5 separate regions of the Homo sapiens genome follow, and all the other regions are linked to region 3. Evidence: promoter capture Hi-C in 16 types of primary human blood cells and fetal thymus (Javierre and others, 2016). All regions are on one chromosome and are shown on one strand. Each heading gives the region's core, a stretch centred on a gene start or on the middle of the fragment in contact. The rest is flanking DNA. Distances are from core to core; before and after follow the strand shown.

Region 1 (2,700 bases), core at 104-2,603, 540 kb after region 3:
TATCTGGATTAAGTAGATAGGGGATGGGTTTTTATAGTTTTTATTTTTGTAACTATAGGGCAGCTACTATAACAATAGCTTAACAACACTGAAAAATTTCAATTAAGTTCACCCTGTTTTTAGAAAGTGTCTAAGTGTAAATGCAAATTCACCTCTTCTTAAGTTAGCAGTTTATATTAAATCAGATATGGTTTCTGAAATGGAAGTAATGTGTTGGAGGGCAACCCAAAAGGACAGTTGCGAAATTATGAATGAGAAATTAAAGTAAAACCAAATCAAAATATTTATACATTTTAGAGATGGGACAAAAAGGATATTAAGAAAAATGTCTTCTTTCCTCCCCATTCAAAAGCAGCCATTCTTCTACTGTGAAAGAAACTGACATGGATATTTTCCCTTTCAAGAGATGTATGATATATTTACCCACTGTGAGGCAGAGGTGATAGGGTCAGTTCTTGTTTGCAGGAACCAACATCCTAAAAAAGAAAATGTCAAGATGGGGAGGGGTGGGAAAGAAGGGTTTTCTATTAATGTCATGGAATATGCCACTGTAGAGGCAGAACACTCCTAATAATAACATTCACCAGATTACTACTGCTGTTTTTTTCAGACTAAGAAAATACTGACAAAATTGGATTTTTTTCTCCTTTCAATTGCAGGATATTCTGATTATTTAAAGTTAGGGAATCCCTTTTTTATCCCCCCACCCAATAAAATGGGCCAATTTGTAGGGATATATGCAAATAAAATGTTCTCTGTTTAAAATACTTACCTGGTTTAATATAACACATTTATCTGGCCAATAAGAGCAACAGAAATGTAGCTGTTATGAAGACTAAAAAAATACAAAAACCAAAGCTGAAGCTTTGTCATCCCTCCCCACTAACTCCCACTCCAATTCTTTACTACCCACATACTAATCTCAGTAATCCCCAAGTCCAACATTTTACCATTAATAACCAATTATTTGGAGGAAAAAGACATTTAATTTTATATTTGCTCTAGCCCTTAATCAATGCATAACAACAAAAACATTTTTAAGCACATGGAAATGAGCCTACTAACCTGATTTTTGGAGCCCAAATTCTCCACTCTATTTTGATCTATGTGCAAAAAGTATTGGTACTTTTCAATTTATACATTTGTTAGTATCTTGTGGCTGGCTTCATAGTATAAGACTCACTCTTAAGCCTACTATAGAGCCTACAGCACTATCAGAAGTTTTCAATTAATAGCTATGGATCAGAAAATCCTGCGATCAGTTTCTCATACCATAAAATCCTAGGCTTCTTTACCATTGATTTCACCTTTCGAGCACAGTCACTGCATGGCAAATGTATGAAACAGACGTTTACAGCAAATAAGTACCAGTATGTACAGGAAGCTGCCAGTTAAGACAGACCCGGAAAACAAACTCACCTAGCTGCTATAGAAACCTTTGCATAGTTGTTACTCCGTTTTAATAGGAGTTATGTTCTTGTAAAATGTGCCTCACTTTTACTCCACTTTTTAAAAAGTGTTTTTAAACTGTACTTCAGAAGCACTCTGAAAACTCAGATCTAGGGGTGGTTAGGTGAAGTAGAGTAGAATCTGAGTGCCAAATTGCCCCTGAATGGGCACAAATCTGAGTGTTACAAATGCACCGTAGCACACTGTAACCAAATTTGTAAACAGCTGTGGAGTTTCTATGCCCACATTTAGTGATGTTACCATAGAGACTGGGGTGTATTAACGGCTTCAGGGTATACATGAATCACTTAAAATATGAATGGTTTTTAACTATACTGAGGTAAAGAGAAGTTGCCACTTAATTACATACAGTTACCAATGAAGATTTTTATTCAAGCTTAAAGTAAAAAGTAATTTTAGTTAAGAAAAATGAAGTACCAGATAAACTGTAACATATATTTTAACTTAGAAGTATCAAAACAGGAATTTTTTGATTCTCTAAGTGGTGGTCTCTGCAAAATGGAGCTTGAAGAAATCTTTTACATACCAATTTGATAAGAGTCTGCTGACCACGATCTGTCATTTTCTTTACTATGGGCTTCTGGGAGAATGCATGCTATTTTAAGGCCAAATGTGTTTTTCTTTCTTCTCCCCTTCCCTGACTTTTCCCTTTCTCCCATCCCCGACCACCTACCCCACAATGGAAGAATTTTTGACATCCAAGCCCTCTTCTCTTTGTGGATTCTGGAGTCTATTCATGATCATAATTATATTATAGACTTGGCTACACCTAAAGGGGAACTTAGTACAAGACTTTTTCTTCACCAGAATCTTATTTTGGGGGTATCCCCATTCTCATTCCAACAGCTGGAGTCACCCTATTTATCCTCTACTGAAAAAGGGAGGGAATTTCAAGGGAGACTATGTTATGTTGTATTCAGCTGTTACGGAGTTTAAAAGCACAATGTGAACATCAGGCTTTTGGCTTATTTTAAATGTGAAATTCTCAAAATTAAAAGTGCTTTTCCATGAAGGAAACCTTTCCTTAAACTAAAACAGGAGGGGAGAGGGAAAGACTATCCACAGCACCAGTTTAGAATGAGGTTCAGTATGGCAATATCTGAAAAAACTGAGAAAAAATATTCTTTAAATTTATGTATCCCTATATGTCAAAATATTAAGGGCAATTAAGAAAAATGACTATGAGGTTTTAATCCCAGTTTAAGTATGTCTGTAACCTGCTGAATTCTT
Region 2 (2,700 bases), core at 155-2,654, 660 kb after region 3:
CCTTAGAATGGGGCAAGGAAAGCCTTTCATGATTTAACCCTCTAATACCTTTCTAGTTTCAATTTTTTATAACTCTCTATTTCGGGTCATTTTTTGAACATCAAGAAACTGAAAAGCATAGCTCAACTGCCTTATACAATACACGCCGTTATTTGCTTCTGGGACAAAAGAAGTCTAGAGTCAGCTGACTGGGCACTGTGGCTCACACCTGTAATCCCAGCACTTTGGGAGGCTGAGGCAGGAGGATCGCTTGAGGCCAGGAGTTCAAGACCAGCCTGGGCAACATAGCGACATCCTATCTCTACCAAAAAAAAAAAAAGAAAAAAGAAAAGAAAAAGAAATCTAGTGTCAGAGTGGGGCTTTGGGTAAGGCTCAACAATTCCCCAAGGATCTAATTCCTTTCTTTCTTTTTTCTTTTTTCTTTTTGAGACAGGATCTTACTGTGTCTCCTAGGCTGAAGTGTAGTGGCACAATCATGGCTCACTGTAGCCTTGACCTCCTGGGCTCAAGTGATCCTCCCACCTCAGCCTCCTTAGTAGCTGGGACTACAGGCCTGCACCATCAAGCCTGACTAATTAAAACAATTTTTTTTTTTTATAGAGATAGTGTCTCCTTATGTTGCTCAGACTGGTCTCTTGAACTCCTGGTCTCAAGTCATCCTCCCACCTCAGCCTCCCAAAGTGCTGTGATTACAAACTGAGCCACTGTGCCTGGCCACAATTTCTTCCTAATTCTCATGGTCCCAAAATGGTTGCCAGCAGCCTTCATCTCATGTCTCTAAAGAAAGAATGACTTGGCTGGTGCAACAGTTCATGCCTGTAATCCCAGCACTTTGGGAGGCCGAGGCAGGCAGATAGCTTGAACTCAGGAGTTGGAAACCAGCCTGGCCAACATGACGAAACTCTATCTCTACCAAAAATACAAAAACTTAGTCAGGCTTGGTGGCATGCATCTGTGGTCCCAGCTGCTTGGGAGGCTGAGGAGGGAGGATGGCTTGAACTCAGGGGGCGGAGGTTGCAGTGAGGCGAGATTGTGCCACTGCACTCCAACCTGCTGGGCGACAGAGTGAGACAAAAAAGCAAAGAAAAAAAAAAAAGAATGACTTTTCCCCAGCATTCATGACTGATCTTTAATCTGAGTAGACTTGTTTCTGACGTACATCTGCCCCTGCACCAACCCCAGTCGCCAGTGGGCTGGGATGTGCTGAGTGGCTACCTGCTGCACGATTTCCCTTGACCTCAAGACTCCCCACAATGCAGTGGATGCCTAAGTGGACAATGAGGCTGCTAGGATGGAAGAAGGGGGGCTGGAACCCGAGGAAGCAGCCGGCATCTGTGCATTCCACACACCCTGCACCATCACATCTCCATGCCTCCCCTTCTGCCACTTCCTGGAACCTACCATCTGCTTCCACTGATCAGAGCCCTGCTTATGCTTCAAAGCCTTGCTCGTGGGCCACCTCTGCTGCTGTGCCTCTTCTGTTCTGGAAACAGTAATCTTTTTTTTCATCTCTCTACTCTCTAAAGCATATCATGTTTCTATCTCATGTGCATTTACTAATTCTGCTTTGTTTTATGTCCACTTGTTTGTATATTTGACTCCTATATTGAACAGAAAGACACTTGAGGTAGGCGGAGTCATACTTTGTTCATTGTAGGGGTTTAAGAGTGTTGAATAAATGGTCATGGGCAATAATACTATCATTATTGAGAGCTTACTGGGTGAAAGGCACTTTGTAAAGAATTCTTCTCATAATTTTATTTAATCTCATTTAATCTTGACAACAGCACCATGAGGCAGATACTATTATTATTGTATCCAGTTTACAGATGAGGGTCCTGGAGCTTAGAGTGATATAAGCGAATTGCCCAAGGTCACATGCTCAGCAGACAGCAGCATAGGCTTGAACCTATATATATATATATATATATTTTTTTTTTTTAACCCCAGAGTTCATGTTCTTAATCATGATAATGTTTTATACAGAATTTTTTTTTTTTTTGGAGATGGAATCTCGCTCTGTCGCCCAGGCTGGAGTGCAGTGGCGCGATCTCGGCTCACTACAACCTCCGTCTCCCAGGTTCAAGCGATTTTCCTGTCTCAGCCTCTGGAGTAGCTGGGATTACAGGTGCGTGCCACCACGCCCAGCTAATTTTTTGTATTTTAGTAGAGACGGGGTTTTACTGTGTTGCCCAGGCTGGTCTCAAACTCCTGAGCTCAGGCAATCCACCTGCCTCGGCCTCCCAAAGTGCTAGGATTACAGGCGTGAGCCACTGCTTTATACAGAAATTTGTTTGTGACCAGCTACTTTCCTGGAAGAGGGGTCCCTGTTGGAGATGATTCTGTGGTGAGGAGGCTGGAGGAAGGTAGGGTGGAGGGGCAGAGGACCTGGAGGCTTCATGAGCAACTGGAGGGAGGTGCTGAAGAATGTGGGGAGGGCAGGTGAGCAGAGGATCCTCTGGGCCTTGTTCAGAATGGTTTGCCCAGAGGGGTCTTCCCTGAGGATACCACTTGTGGGCAGAACCCAGGAGTGCTGCAGATACGGCTCCCGGAGAGTGAAGCCCTGGTTTTCTTGGGGTCCTCAGAAACAGAGGGAATCAAGTCACTTTACTGGCCCAAGGGAATGGAAATTAGGGGCCGAAACAAACATCTACTGGGATAAAATAAGTGGTGTGAGTGAGATTGCAGCCAGAAATGATC
Region 3 (2,700 bases), core at 19-2,518:
GACGCCCTCCATGACACAAGCAGGGGGCCAGGGAACAGCATATTATACTCTGTATGTATGACTGCAAACTTTGTCATCACTCCATTCCACAGACTTCATAAAAGTAAAAGCTTTTTGTTTCTTTGTCTGAACAAATGGAGCCACAAGCATAGGATGCCTGCAAGATGTCCCCACTTCAGTGGGAGAGGTGCAAATACAACTTCCACGAAGAAACTCGCTACTGAAGTCTGCAGAAGCCACCGCAACACACCGCAAACCTCCATTCCGCGATCGCTGAATGACAGAGACATTTCTGAAATGTCTCAAACCTGCTGTTCATCTGTGGCCTGGTGGCCGTGTCAAAAGCCTGCGGAGCTCCTAAAGAAGGCACTAATCCTCTCCGGAGGTCTTGCTAAAAGCTGTGGGAAACGAAGGGAGCCAGGCACGTACGCTTTCCTGCAATCTAAAACTTCCGAGATTGCATTTACCAAAACCCCTTTCCACAAAGAGGTAAGGGTGACTTAGCTGCTACTGTGGATATCAAGATCGAAATTCAATTAAAAACAAAGCAAAGGTACCCGTTCCAGTAACGTATGTTTCACTCCAGTAAAAAGTAAAAAGACACAGCAAAGAACAAGGTCCCCGGTTCCCGTATTCTTGACCTTCAAGAACTGCAAAAAAGTCAAGACCCAGTGAAAGACGAAAAGTTTGAGTGGCTGCTGGGCTCGCGGGCGGCTCGCCTGACTCCGGAGCAGCTGGAGGAACCCGCCTCGAGGTTAGGGTCTCGCCGCGCCCCCACGACGGCTGTGGGCGCAGAGCCCAGAGGATGGAGCCTCCCCTTCCTGAAACCCGCTCGAAGCTCGGAAAGCCCCGGCCCCTCCGCGCGGGCTGCGGCCCCCAGGCTCCTTCCCCGACGCGCCCGAGGGCGCGGACCAGCCCCCGGCACGCGACCCCGCACACTTCCGGGCCCGACGCCCTGGCCGCTCGCCCACTTACCGGCATCATCTTGGACCCGAACCGCATGGAAGCGGGTGGCCAGACTGCGGCCCCGGCCGAGCTGAGGTGCCCCGGAGGGTCGCGGATGCGGGGGAGGGGAGCGGAGAGCGAGGCCGCCCGGACCTGTTGCGAGGCGGCGGCGGCGGCAGCGGCGGCGCGCGGGTCCGAAGGGCCCTCCGCGCGGGCTGGGGCACCAACAAGCCCCGGGCTCCCCCGCCCCGGCCGGGCCCCCTGACGCGGCTTTGTCTCTTCGACGCTCGTGACGGTCGGGGCTCCCTCCTCCGCTCCGAAACCAACTAATCCCGGGTCGGGCCCCAGCCGAGCCCGTGCCGGCTCCGCCCCCCGCGCCGACCCCGCCCGCGGCGCGCCCGGCGGCCTGGGGGAGGGGCGGCCGCGGGAACGGGAGCTGCGCGCGCCTGCGCGGGCCCGGCTGGGTAGACGGGGAGCGGCGGGAGCCGGCCGCCTTTTCTTTCTTCGCCCCGGACTGAAGTGCGGTCGGGGCCGCGCGGCGGAGCGGCTGGAGCGCGCGCCTCCTAGCGGAGCCGGGGCAATTGGAAGGCCGCGCCTCAGGAAAACAGGATGGTAGTGAATGGCACCGAGCCGCCCCAGGGCTGCCGCCGTCACCTCCTCGGCGGCTCCGAGTCGTGCGAGGCAGGGGACCCTTTGCCTTCAGAACAGGGCGCCCGACGTTGGGCGCGTGGACAGAGTCCTCCGGCGGCCGCGCCGCTGGGCCAGGCGGAGAGAGGCGGACGGACTTCAGGGGAGGCCCGGGCCACGCCGCGGAAACTACCCGACTCCCTGGAGGCGGCCAGGACCGACCCTGTCCCGACAAAATGGAGTTCCCCGTGTGGCTTCAGCTCGCGGCGCGTTCCCAGAGCTCCTCAGTGATCCGGCTTTCGGATTGTTCGCCTTTCATCTCATTTGCCGTTGTCCAAATTCTAATTTAAAACTCATGTGTTACTTGCTGTAAGGTTAACAAACGTACACCGCAAACTGGATAAAGGGATAACTTTTATGTTGTGTATGTTTTACCACAATAAAAATAAATTTTGTAAAAATGTGTCAGGCAGCATTCTGAGGAGCTTCCCTGGGGGGTGCTGGGAACACCCTGCAAACAGCCTCCGATACGGGGAGCCGGTGGATACCATCCTTTTCCAGGGAGGGAGGCCAAGGCCTAGGGAAATGGCAGGGCTGCCTTCCAAAGAGTAGCAGAGCGGGTTCAGGCTTTTATTCCACCTTCCAGAGAGACACATACTGCGGGAACCCTAACTCCAGGAAGCTTTGTTCTAGTAAGTTGTCAGTGCAAGTTCACTCAGAATCACTTTTCTCTGCCTTTATACATGATTCTAGAACCTGAAGTGGGGTAAATCCCCTGGGTTTATCTAGTATCAAGAACAGACAATTCTTTCTTAGCCCACCATATCCCTTACCAGAATCTCCATCGAACTCCCTATTGCACCATCCCAGATACTGTATCTGGAAATACTAAATTACGGTTAATTCAACTAGAATTTAACGTTCTCGCCCGGGCGCAGTGGCTCACGCCTGTAATCCCAGCACTTTGGGAGGCCGAGGCGGGCAGATCACCTGAGGTCAGGAGTTCGAGACCAGCCTGGCCACGTGGTGAAACCCTTGTCTCTACTAAAAATATAAAAATTAGCCGGGCATGGTGGCGCATGCCTGTAATGCCAGCTACTCGGGAGGCTGAGGCAGGAGAATCTCTTG
Region 4 (2,700 bases), core at 35-2,534, 710 kb before region 3:
GCATTTCTAACGGGCTCCCACGTGATGCTGCTGCTGGTCCACTGACCACACTGTTAGCGGTGAGAACCTAAGAGTCTGTAATTGCCTCCCTGCTCATTACCCCCATGCCCACGTGAGCTGCCTCGTTCTTCCAGGATAAGGCATGGCTAAGATGCTGCACGATTGGTTTTGAGAAGGGGCTATACTAATACATTCACTTCCCCTTCCTCCCCATTTTTCTCAGCGCTGAAGAGTGAAGCATCAGAGAGTACCTCAAAGAAGATTCATGTGAGGCTTTGAGGAGGAGGGGATGGATGGGTCATATCGCTTTACTAGGAGCTAAGGAAACGGGACAGCTTGGGTGCGACTTCTGATTTCAGGAGATGCGCTTTCCCTAGAGACCAGCAGAGGGCGCAAAAGGGGCAGGGACCGAGGGGGAGGAGCCCGCGGAGCCGCGGCCGGAGAGTCGAGCGGGGCGCGGGGAGCTGCAAGCGTCCCTGAGCTGAGCTCCGCTGGGAAGTTCCTATCGCTTGCGCAGTAGAGTGCATTTAGACATTTCAATGACAACTAAATTTGTAGCTGGATTCAAATCCTAGCTCCACAGTTTAGTAGGTGTGTGAGCTTGGGCGAGTGCTGAACCTCTCTAAGCATCAGTTTACTGCCTATAAAATCACAGCAATAAGTTTCTACCTCCCACCCCCGCCGCCCCTACCCCGGCAGCAACAGCCTGCTTCCGGCTTCCAGGGATCCTCCAGTGCCCAAACCAGAATATCCAGTTACCCATGCTTAATACTCCAACAGTTCTTGCTTGCTGAAGTAGGCAGCCATCATTTACGCAACTACACCTTACCAGAAACGCCTTCCCTTTAGAACACTGAAGGGGAAAGTTAGAGAGGGAAAGGAAATTTCTCAAGGCACTGGGGTGATTTTGTGTTTCTTTAGCATGAGTTACCGGAAAGCTTCCTGTGTTTTCTTTACTATCTTTAGGTGGTGGTTCCCAGCATCAAAAAACAGCAAAAACAGCAGCAAGCAAAGGCGCTGATACTCTGAAAAGTTATGTTGAAAACACATGGTTTAGGTACAGAATGGCTTCCCCGTTGTTTGCACATTATAACTCTTTAGCACACAATTTTAAAGCATCTGATTGAAAGAAATAATTTTTAGTGATTATTAAAAACGAACAACTAGCACAACATTTAAAATCGTCGGGAAAAGGTGGCTCGCCCAGAAAGTGAACATCCCTACCTGTCTCCAGGTTCGGACAGCGCCAACATTCTCAATTAGAAAATTAACATCTGAGGCTCCGACATCTTCCCTGGATGCTAAATCCTGTGTATTGATGGGCAAAGTCAATTGCCAGGAAAGCTGGGCAACTATAAGGTCAGGGGGCTGGAGCAGATGAGAGTAGGGAAGTCCAGTATAGCATCCCTGAAAGTAATGACACAGACAATCTGCTAAGCGCTGCAAAAATCATTTGGAGTGTGATGTAAATTGGAAACAGCTGGGGTGGGGGTGGTGACCGGCAACTAGGAACCCTATTAACCTGATCAGTTAGATACGAAATGGGAATGTGAAGAGAGAGTATCAAACACTTGAGAACTGTTCTGAGAGGGATGTGTAGTCTGTGCTGGGCTAGCAAAGGAATCAAGAGAAAGCTTCCCAGGCAGATAAAATCCAATGCACCCTGCAGCTGCTGGAGACACCCCCTGATGCAAGGTAAGCCCTGAAGAGGTTGAGAAGGAAAGGTGGGGGGCACTCAGGCCAGGATGAGGATGCCCTGAGAGGAAGATGATTTCACTGGTGTTGCCTGAGGGACTGTAAGCAGGGACAGGTGAGGCTGGGGAGCGCACCCCTGCTGGAAGCACAGGTCCCCACCCTGTGCCCAGTGTCCTGGGACCCGAAGGAGGTTTACTGCATGTGGAATCTGCCTGGGCAGGCTGCCCAGGGTGGCTATGCTCCATTCTGAGTCAGGGCAGGGAGTCAGCTAGTTGATTTGGCTCCAACTTGCTAGTGGTGGTTACTTTCGAGATACATGAGACCATGGCAAAAATGCTGGGCTGGGAGAGGATAAATATCGGTTCTAGTCCTCCTTCAGCCACAGTCTGGGTATCCTAGACAACTCTAACTTTCATTGTCCTCAGTTTCTGCATATGTATAACGGTGAGTTTGAAATGGAAGCATTTTTAAATCCTTGTTAACTCTGAAGTTATCTAAGGAAACTTGCTGAGTATCATCATGACAGCAATCATAGACCAGGGCCAATCCTCCCTGAAGCAGAACATTCCTTCTTCATTCTGGCAAATTTGCAAGGCTGTTACACCGGATCTTGAAGATACATAGTGGAAAATGATGTTATTAATGTACCGATGAAAAAAATGGAACCACATATATCCTAGCTTTAAATAGCAACTTTTTCCCCCCTCAAGAAATTACCCTCAGAGGAGCTTATGTCTGCGGCTAGATATTTTGAGATTTGACTTTTTTTTCCCCCTCTCCTTGTATTTCTGCTTTCCTAGGCTCACCTCCACCTCTGTAGCCAGCTCCCTAGTCATTGGTCCAGGGCAGGTATATGTCAGAACCCTACCAGGAATAGCCTGCAAGTTCTTCTGGCTTTGATTTTCCAAACAGGGCCTTAGGTTGGGGACACAAAGTCTTTGCCAAGTTGGGGGAAGAGGGGTGGGGTGTGCTGATGGGTAAAGCAGAGAGACATGCTTCTAGAAA
Region 5 (2,700 bases), core at 167-2,666, 520 kb after region 3:
GCTTGAATCCAGGAGGAGGAGGTTGCGCTGAGCCGAGATCTTGCCACTACACTCCAGCCTGGGCAACAGAGCGAGATTACGTCTAAAAATAATAATAATAATAAACTAAAAAAGTATAACTGGATCGTTTGTAACACAAAGGATAAATGCTTGAGGTAATGGATACCCCGTTTACCCTGATGTGATTTTTTTTTTTTTTTTTTGAGACGGAGGTTTGCTCTTGTTGCCCAGGCTGGAGTGTGATACCGCAATCTTGGCTCATTGCAACCTCCGTCTCCCGGGTCCAAGCGATTCTCCTGCCTCAGCCTCCTGAGTAGGTGGGATTACAGGCATGCGCCACCACGCCTGGCTAATTTTGTATTTTTAGTAGCAATGGGATTTCTCCATGTTGGTCAGGTTGGTCTTGAACTCAACCTCAGGCAATCCTCCCGCCTCGGCCTCCTGGAGTGCTGGGATTACAGGTGTGAGCCACTGTGCCCAGCCTTACCCTGATGGGATTAGTACACATTGCATGCCTGTATCAAAATCTCTCATATAACCCATAAATATATATACCTACTGTGTACCCACAAAAATTAAAAATAAAACAAAAATACAAAAAGGAAAAAAAAGACAGCTAAGTAAGTGGTGGTAGGAAGAAAGACTGGACAAGGGTTTGATGGACTGGCTATGAAAGATGAGGAAGAGAGAAGTCCCAGTTGGGTAAGAGGAAGTTTTTAAGGACCACCAAGAAAATGGTGACACTCTTATTAGATAACCTAGAAATTAGACAAGGATGAGATGTTATCTGGATATTCAAATGAAAATACCCTCTATTCAGCTATAGTCGGGCTACTGGGGTTTTAAGGGAGAATTTCAGATTTGTGGAACTCAGAGAGTCCTTTGCATTTCAAAGAAGTGATAATTGAGAAGCTGTGTGACAACTAAGGTTGTACTAGAAGAAGCTTAGACGTGAGAGCAGGAAGAATTCATGGACAGTGCTAGGTTAGGACATATATGTTACACAGATGACACAGTCTGGATGTTGAAGCCCAGACACTTAAATTCATTGATCCTCTCAAAGTAACCTAACTTCCTTAATTTCCCTGTTTCCATAATGAAGTTTCTAAGAACTTAATAAAATTGGTTTGGGTTTGAAGCCTTCTTTAACCTTTGTCTAATGGAAAAGGGCTGTAGATGTGACTGGTATGGTAGTTTTCTACAGATGAGTAAAAGGGTTTCAGTGCATAAAATATCCTTTTCTGGAATGTTACTGTATTTATTTTACAGGGCAGAAGATTAACAGTATTATAACTTTCAAAAGGAAACTAAGTGGCAGCCCATGACATTATCATACTACTCTGTACATATGTGGTATGAATTTAAGGCTGCTATGATTGGCTCACTTTTTTTTTTTTTTTTTTTGAGATGGAGTTCTGCTCTGTCACCCAGGCTGGGGCTCAATGGCACGATCTTGGTTCACTGCAACCTCTGCCTTCCGGGTTCAGGTGATTATCCTGCCTCAGCTTCTCGAGTAGCTGGAATTCCAGTTGCCTGCCACCATGCCCAGCTAATTTTTGTATTTTTAGTAGAGACAGGGTTTCACCATGTTGGTCAAGCTGGTCTTGAACTCCTGACCTCAGGTGATCCACCTGCCTTGGCCTGCCAAAGTGCTGGGATTACCGGCATGAGCCACAGTACTGGGCCTGATTGGTTCACTTTTAAAAGTCGATTATTATTGGCTACTTATATTTGAATACTTATGCCTATGATTTGATTATCCTTCTAATGTGTGTATCCTTTAATTTATCAGATACATTATGGTGCCGAGTGGTAACATGGGAGTGTTTGATCCAACAGAAATACACAATCGAGGGCAGCTGAAGTCACACATGAAAGAAGCCATGATCAAGCTTGGTTTCCACTTGCTCTGCTTCTTCATGTATCTTTATAGGTGAGTTTAAAGTCCTGGTATTTTCCTAGATGCCATATTTGTTTTTGAAGGGTGAGATATTACTATACTATAGGATTTTGCATTGACATTGTGGAACTTTCGGGGATTATGTAAATTCCTTGTGGCTGTGTAGATTATTTATGTATGTCATTGAATCAGCTTTCTGTCTGAACTACAGTAGATCTACCCTGTTGCATCTTAGTTATGCCTTAGCTTTGAGGCTATCCACATGCTTAAAACAGGGCACGGTGACTTACGCCTGTAATCCCAGCACTTTGGGAGGCCGAGGAGGGCAGATCACCTGAGGTCGGGAGTTCGAGACCAGCCTGACCAACATGGAGAAACACCGACTCTACTAAAAATACAAAATTAGGTGGGCGTGGTGGCACATGCCTGTAATCCCAGCTACTTGGGAGGCTGAGGCAGGAGAATCACTTGAACCTGGGAAGCAGAGGTTGTGGTGAGCCAGGATCGCGCCATTGCACTCCATCCTGGGCAACAATAGTGAAACTCTGTTTCATATTTTTTTCCTTCCCTAGTAGTATACAGCTGTGGAGTTCCACTGCCTGTTATAAGCATTAATATATGTGCCTCAGCGACCATCCCACTCATGGTCTTTGGGGGATCACACCACTAGCAGCAGCTCTCAGCAACTTTTATCCAAATTGTGCTGATCTTTCTTGGCAATAAGTAATTTAGGTGTGATGCTCATTCTCCAGCATGCTAAATGTCTATTATGGTAAAGTTGTATCAGTCTTCTAGTTATA

The links. The method cuts DNA at HindIII sites, captures the fragments that hold promoters and counts their contacts. A CHiCAGO score of 5 or more calls a contact.
Region 1: a contact is called between a fragment that was not itself captured here and the fragment with the promoter of TP53BP2 in region 3, in 3 of 17 cell types (monocytes, activated CD4 T cells and total CD8 T cells). The highest score is 6.3, in monocytes.
Region 2: a fragment that was not itself captured here is called in contact with the fragment with the promoter of TP53BP2 in region 3 in 1 of 17 cell types (erythroblasts); the score reaches 5.1 in erythroblasts.
Region 4: a contact is called between a fragment that was not itself captured here and the fragment with the promoter of TP53BP2 in region 3, in 1 of 17 cell types (fetal thymus). The highest score is 8.1, in fetal thymus.
Region 5: a contact is called between a fragment that was not itself captured here and the fragment with the promoter of TP53BP2 in region 3, in 1 of 17 cell types (naive B cells). The highest score is 6.8, in naive B cells.

Annotation. Positions count from the first base shown.
Region 1 is chr1:224,386,027-224,388,726 of GRCh38, forward strand. It overlaps WDR26 (WD repeat domain 26), which reads right to left. Exons shown (of 14, transcript NM_001379403.1): 14 at 1-2,700. Among named protein-coding and RNA genes, the nearest start is that of MIR4742, 11 kb to the right of the region's middle. The HindIII fragment of the contact is 982 bases long and covers 863-1,844 here.
Region 2 is chr1:224,499,596-224,502,295 of GRCh38, forward strand. It overlaps a transcript of CNIH3 not described here. Among named protein-coding and RNA genes, the nearest start is that of WDR26, 66 kb to the left of the region's middle. RefSeq lists enhancers at 647-1,147, 1,148-1,648. The HindIII fragment of the contact is 3,572 bases long and covers 1-2,700 here.
Region 3 is chr1:223,844,679-223,847,378 of GRCh38, forward strand. It overlaps TP53BP2 (tumor protein p53 binding protein 2), which reads right to left and starts at 1,269. Exons shown (of 18, transcript NM_001031685.3): 1 at 976-1,269. The coding sequence starts at 1,002. RefSeq lists a silencer at 1,097-1,406. The HindIII fragment of the contact is 2,144 bases long and covers 109-2,252 here.
Region 4 is chr1:223,133,458-223,136,157 of GRCh38, forward strand. TLR5 (toll like receptor 5) reads right to left here. Exons shown (of 6, transcript NM_003268.6): 4 at 1,225-1,407. Among named protein-coding and RNA genes, the nearest start is that of TLR5, 8.4 kb to the right of the region's middle. The HindIII fragment of the contact is 696 bases long and covers 937-1,632 here.
Region 5 is chr1:224,369,491-224,372,190 of GRCh38, forward strand. It overlaps CNIH4 (cornichon family member 4), which reads left to right. Exons shown (of 5, transcript NM_014184.4): 4 at 1,793-1,933. Among named protein-coding and RNA genes, the nearest start is that of CNIH4, 14 kb to the left of the region's middle. The HindIII fragment of the contact is 948 bases long and covers 943-1,890 here.